Regions from separate parts of the Homo sapiens genome. Here region 2 is linked to region 1. Evidence: promoter capture Hi-C in 16 types of primary human blood cells and fetal thymus (Javierre and others, 2016). All regions are on one chromosome and are shown on one strand. The core of a region is centred on a gene start or on the middle of the fragment in contact, and the rest is flanking DNA. Distances in the headings are between cores, read along the strand shown. Region 1 holds the start of BLTP2 (bridge-like lipid transfer protein family member 2). Region 2 overlaps SPAG5 (sperm associated antigen 5).

The links. The method cuts DNA at HindIII sites, captures the fragments that hold promoters and counts their contacts. A CHiCAGO score of 5 or more calls a contact.
Region 2: a fragment that was not itself captured here is called in contact with the fragment with the promoter of BLTP2 in region 1 in 1 of 17 cell types (M1 macrophages); the score reaches 5.6 in M1 macrophages.

Annotation. Positions count from the first base shown.
Region 1 is chr17:28,643,646-28,646,671 of GRCh38, forward strand. BLTP2 (bridge-like lipid transfer protein family member 2) reads right to left here and starts at 1,513. Exons shown (of 39, transcript NM_014680.5): 1 at 1,344-1,513; 2 at 413-542; 3 at 1-14. The coding sequence starts at 1,411. RefSeq lists silencers at 1,310-1,649, 1,670-1,899. The HindIII fragment of the contact is 8,883 bases long and covers 1-3,026 here.
Region 2 is chr17:28,592,611-28,595,636 of GRCh38, forward strand. It overlaps SPAG5 (sperm associated antigen 5), which reads right to left. Exons shown (of 24, transcript NM_006461.4): 3 at 1-456. Among named protein-coding and RNA genes, the nearest start is that of SPAG5, 4.9 kb to the right of the region's middle. The HindIII fragment of the contact is 439 bases long and covers 1,218-1,656 here.

The DNA of each region.
Region 1 (3,026 bases), core at 263-2,762:
AGGTTATCAATTTCCTAAAACAGTGAGGGAGAAAGCTCTGTGTGCTAGCTGCTAAATAAGCCACGAGCAGCTTGACAAGCCAGGAAATGTTCTGGATTATTAGAATTTCTCTTTCATAGCCATGTTGCCTTGAATCCCATCTTAAATTAGAACAGTAAAATCTTCGATTTCCTGTTATCTTTCTTCTGTATCTTTGTTATGTGCCCTGGACACTCTGTGTCCTACAAACATTTTTAACTGAACAACTTGCAGCGTTCTCCAACTAGCTCTAAGATCATCTTGGCAAAGAAATGGCAAGGCTGGGATTAACTAGAAAAGCCACCAGGATTTCTATTTTTAAAAAAAGGAAATTAAGAGTTTAAATTCAATTGGATCAACCCTACACACATATCCAGAGTTTCCCAGAACTCACCACTGTTTGCTGGTGTTGCTGAAACTTAAGACTGACATTCTGGATCCAAAAAAAGCGGAAGGAGCCAATCTTTAGCTCCGCCTGCAGCTTCCGCTGACACCACTTGGTGGCCAACCGGACCACAAGCCACCTGCAGAAAAATTCCTGTTAATTCATAGGACCTTTTTCCAATGATGGTTTCCCTCACCCCTTGCTGGTCTTTCAAAGCCTTGCAAAAGGTCGTTCCTGAAACTGGATCTGAGCAACTCTCCTTTCTTCCAAAGCACCACTCTGTCATATACATTCAGCCACGCTGATCAAGATCCTAGCTCCCGACTGACCCCTCCACCCAGATGAAACCAGAAACTGCACCCTCTAAGTTGAAGACAAAAACAAAATCCCTCAAATTGTTATGAATCCCAGAGGCAGAGAGAGAAGACCCCAGCAAGAGTCAAAGCGGAGGCGGCTCTGTCACATGTGCCATCACACTCCCCAGAGGGTCTGTCTGTCTCCTGCTCCCACCCTCCAGACAGGTATCCACGAGAAGGCACTTTGAGGTCAGACCCGGCAGCTCGAATGCTGTTCTCCCCAGACCGATGCTGCAGGTGCCCATCGCGCTTGGCGAAAGGGACATGCAGGGGTGGGTGGAGGGGGAAAGGGAAGCCACTGAACCAGGCCCCTTCCTCACACTCCTATTCAGTTCCTGGCCTCAGCATTTCCTCAGACCCCGCCCGCTTCCTCAGTCTCCCCAACTCGCAGCCCATCCCTGGGAGCTCGGGCCACGCGCCTCCTCACGATCCCTCCCCTCGCCGCGCGCCCCCTCCCTCCACCCTACCCACTCTGCCTCACGCGCCTCAGTAAGGCGCGCGCCCCCTCCTCAGTCTTTCTTCCTCCTCTCCGCCCCCTCCCTCCCGCCGCCGCCGCCGCCGCCGGCGCGGCCGGGAACCCTCACCGGCCTAGAAAGAGGGCGCTAAGCGCAACTAGCAGCAAGACCAACAGCGCGGAGAAGAACAGAGGCATTTAGGTCCGGGTCCGGCCCGGCTTGGCCCCGGCCCCCGCCATGCCGGGCCCCGACGCCGGATCCGCGCAGCACCGCCGCGGGCCGACCAGCTGCGCGCGCAGGAGCAACGCTGAGCGAGGACGCGCTGGTGCGCACACGAGCCCCGCCTTCCGCAGCCCGCCAGCCAACCAACGGCCTCCCACCCCAGTCCCGCCCTGTCCTACGACGCTGCAGGGCCGACGGGCTGCGTGCGCGAGGAGCGGGCGTGGTTCCGGGAGGAGGGCGAGGGGGAGCGGACCAAGAGCTGAAACACGCCCCGGGCGCACACCACGGTGCCCGGAACCGCGGGGCTCGGGGACCCGCGGGGGTCGGAGTCCGGGCCCACTACCTGGGCTGGCGGTGGACCTGGCTGACTCATTTCGGTCCGGGGAGCTCACTTTGAGGGGAGTTGGAGTCCGCCTAGCCACTTAGGCCTGGACTCAGGGTTCTGCGGAAGTTACACCCCTGGTCAGACGTGGTAGCACTCCCATCTTATTCAAGATCCTGTTTGAAAATTACTGAGGCAGAAACTAGGAGGTAATTAAAAGGCCTCAAAAATCTCGCCTCATTCCATCCACAGAGGAAACTAATGAGGTTTTGTTTTTTTTTTCTTTGAGACAAGGACTCGCTACGTTGCCCAGTCTGGTCTCGAACTCCTGCAGGCTCAAGGGATCCTCCTGCCTCAGCCTCCTGAGTAGCTTGGACTAAAGACGCGTGTCACGGTTCCTGGCCAATGAGTTTTTACTTCATTTACTGTTTGAACACTGTTCTGGTCCATCTACTTATGGCACGAACTGGGCCCTGATGGAGGAGAGGAGGAGATACTGCAGAAGTAGTGAATATTGTTCTTGCCCTTTAGCAAAAAATAGTTTATCTGGGAAGCAAACATAATTACATAAAGTAGACAATACATAGTCAGTTTTGCCTGCTTCCTTCTGTGTAGTTTATCTGGGAAGCAAACATAATTACATAAAATAGACAATACATAGTTTTGCCTGCTTCCTTCTCTGTAAAATGAGAGAACAGGACAAAGGTCCCTCAGCGTTACTGTGCTAAGGATCAGTATCTGAATGATGATCTACTGATACAGCACAAGCTAAGGAAATCCTGACGGTTTCAAAATAAGTATTATGGAGGAGGTCATGTCTCTTTTCATACCCCTTCGCTCCCACGTCCTAATCTCCATATATATCCTTCAAGATTTTACTCAGAGCCTCTCTTTTTGGCTCCCTCAGATAAAACACCATTTCATCTTTCACCTGTGTGTTGCCCGAAGTTGCTTTCACTCCTCTGATTGTTTCCTCCCTTATCTATTCCTCTCTTCAGTGATTTCACATCTCCCCAAGAGCTCCAGCGCTGCTGTTTCAAGGTCATACTTACCTCTCAAGCACTGTATTTGCGTCATCTTCCTCGTCATCTGCAGCCTTCCCCCAGGGTATGTCCTCCGAATGCTCTGGGAAGGCCCAATTCACTGAAAACCTCTGTCCAAGTCAAGGAGGGGTGCCGTGCAACACGTATCCCTACTCTGGTTCATCTTATCCAATCTGTTTATTGAACCAAGATTCCTGTCACTTCCTTCCTTCTCCCTTGACTATT
Region 2 (3,026 bases), core at 187-2,686, 51 kb before region 1:
AGAACAGGGATTTGGTGGAGACTCCTCTAAGAGATGGGACGGAGATTCCTGAAAGATAGGTTTCTCAGATACAGCAGCAACTTCTGAAAACCTGTCTCCCATGCAGGGTGCCACCTCCTCTCTCACCAGATCGTCTGTTCTCAAAGGTCCATTTAAAGATATGCTGTTTGTCTCTGCCATGGTATCTAAACGGGCCTCAAATATCATGTCTTGTTGCTGCCCCAGTGGAGATGGTACAAGGACGATGGTTTTAACCATATAATTGCCCAGTGGGTCTACTGCTTCCTCAGACGTTTTAGGAGTAGAGCTAATTTGGGGAATTGGATCTAGAGGCTGCTCATCTGATTCATGCTGACAAGTTTCTAGCCACTTTGAGGAATGACTGAAATGTTCTGAAGATAAGTCTGTCCTCTTGTTATTTACAAAATCCACTGGAGATGAGTTGTTGCTGCCTTCCTGCCAAAGGAAACAAAAGTAGTTGTCTAAGGCAGTCAATTCAGTTCCCGACATACAATTACAGGTGCAAGATAGTGCACTCAAAAAAGAAAAGAATTCTTACTACCTCTGCTTAGGTAAGAACTTGGCTAATCTTTGTTGCTCATATAGAGACCCAATAGTAGGGAAAGAAAAGCTGCTAAGCCATTTTGGGTCCTTCCAAGTGAACCAGCCTACATTATAAACAGGCTGAGAATATAGATCCATATCGTGGGCAGATGGTAGCTTGAAAGTGACCCCACTCATCTCCATTCTGAACTCTAACGCACTTCTAGATGAACAGATAGGAGGGGTCCATAGGGTGTGAGTGAAGGCTTAAGCTCTGTCAGAATCTAGAGTTGGTACAAGTTCTTCTCCCTCTCGGCTGGGCGCAGTGGCTCACGCCTGTAATCTCAGCATTTGGGAGGCCACAAGCAGGTGGATCGCTTGAGTTCAAACCTCATCTCTACTAAAAATACAAACATTAGCCGGGCATGGTGGTGCTGATGTGTGCCTGTAGTCCCAGCTACTCAGGAAGCTGAGGTGGGAGGATCACTGAAGCTCAGGGGGCAGAGGTTGCAGTGAGCCAAAATCGTGCCACTGCACTCCAGCCTGGGTGACAGAGCAAAACCCTGTCTCAAAAAAAAATAAATAAATAAATAAAAAAGGTAGACCCTAACAAAACAGAGCTGCTGGAAGACACAGATGATAATCTGAACAACAACAAAAAAAACGAGTACTTAAGCTTTAACTACAACATAAATACACACACAAAGACATTTTAGAAATAATAAATATTATTTTAAATAAAAAATGTCAGTAAAATGAATTGAAAGAGTAAATTATTAGAGTTGAAACTAGAATTACTGGCCTGGACAAGTGGAAGAAATATCTTAAAGCAAAGATAAAAATATAAAGAAATGTAAATCTGAAGAAAAAGCTAAGAGAATTAGAAGATAAACCCAGGATACCTAACAGTTAAATAAAAGAAATTCCAGAAGAGAACATATATACATGAGGCGCTGATTAACAAATATTAGAAGAAAACTACCCTAATGAAAGACCTGAGTTTGCACATTAAAATGGCTCACCAGTTTCTAAGCAGGACTGACTAGAAAAGATACATGCTAGACACATAATTATAAAATTTCTGTGCTACAATGAAGAAAAAACTATTCTGGAAGCTTTAGATAGAAAGTCCAATTATTTATTAAAAAAATAATCAAACAGACCGGGCGCAGTGGCTCACGCCTGTAATCCCAGCACTTTGGGAGGCTGAGGCGGGCGGATCACGAGGTCAGGAGATCGAGACCATCCTGGCTAACACGATGAAACCCCGTCTCTACTAAAAATACAAAAAATTAGCTGGCTGTGGTGGCGGGCACCTGTAGTCCCAGCTATTTGGGAGGCTGAGGCAGGAGAATGGCGTGAACCCGGGAGGTGGAGCTTGCAGTGAGCCAAGATCGTGACACTGCACTCCAGCCTGGGCAACAGAGCGAGACTCCGTCTCAAAAAATAATAATAATAATAATCAAACATATGAAATTTCTCATTTATATTAGTGGATGAAACAAAACCAAGGTTAGGTTAAAAAGGGCTTCTGATATTCTGGTACTGTCCTACTTACTGACCTGGGTATTAGTTACATGGATGTGTACTTTATAGTAATTTGTTATGCTGTTATGTTTTATTGTAATTTCATGTATCTTACTTTAATTTTGAAATTATTAAAAGGTATGATGGCTCACACCTGTAGTCCCAGCTATTCAGGAGGCTGAGGTGGGAGGACTGCTAGAGCTCAGGAGTTCAAGGTTGCAATAAGCCAAGATCACACCACTGCACTCTAGCCTGGGTAACAGAGCAAGACCCTGTCTCAAAAAAAAAAATAAAAAAGACAGGGCATGGTGGCTTACACCTGTAATCCCAGCACTTTGGGAGGCTGAGGCGGTCAGATCACAAGGTCAGGAGTTCGAGTGCAGCTGGGCCAACATGGTGAAACCCCATCTCTACTCAAAATACAAAAATTAGCTGGGCATGGTGGCGGGTGCCTGTAGTCCCAGCTACTCGGGAGGCTGAGGCAGGAGAATCGCTTGAATCTGGGAAGCAGAGGTTGCAGTGAGCCAAGATCGCGGCACTGCACTCCAATCTGGGCGATACAACAAGACTCCTTCTCAAAAAAAAAAAAAAAAAGACAATATAAAGATGAGTGTGTGTGTGTGTGTGTGCATATATACAAAATAGACACACATAAAGAGATGTATGAAAGAACTGTCAAATATGACATTTATCTAAGATACCAGAAATATTTCTTCCTTATACATTTATATATTCAAATGCTTCAAACAATTAATATCTATTAATAATCAAAAATTTACAAAACAGGCCAGGTGCAGTGGCCCACGCCTGTAATCCCAGCACTTTGGGAGGCCAAGGAGGGTGGATCACTTGAGGTCAAGAGTTTGAGACCAGCCTGGCCAATGTGGTGAAACCCCGCCTCTACTAAAAATACAAAAAATTAGCCAGGCATGGTGGCACGCGCCTGTAATCCCAGC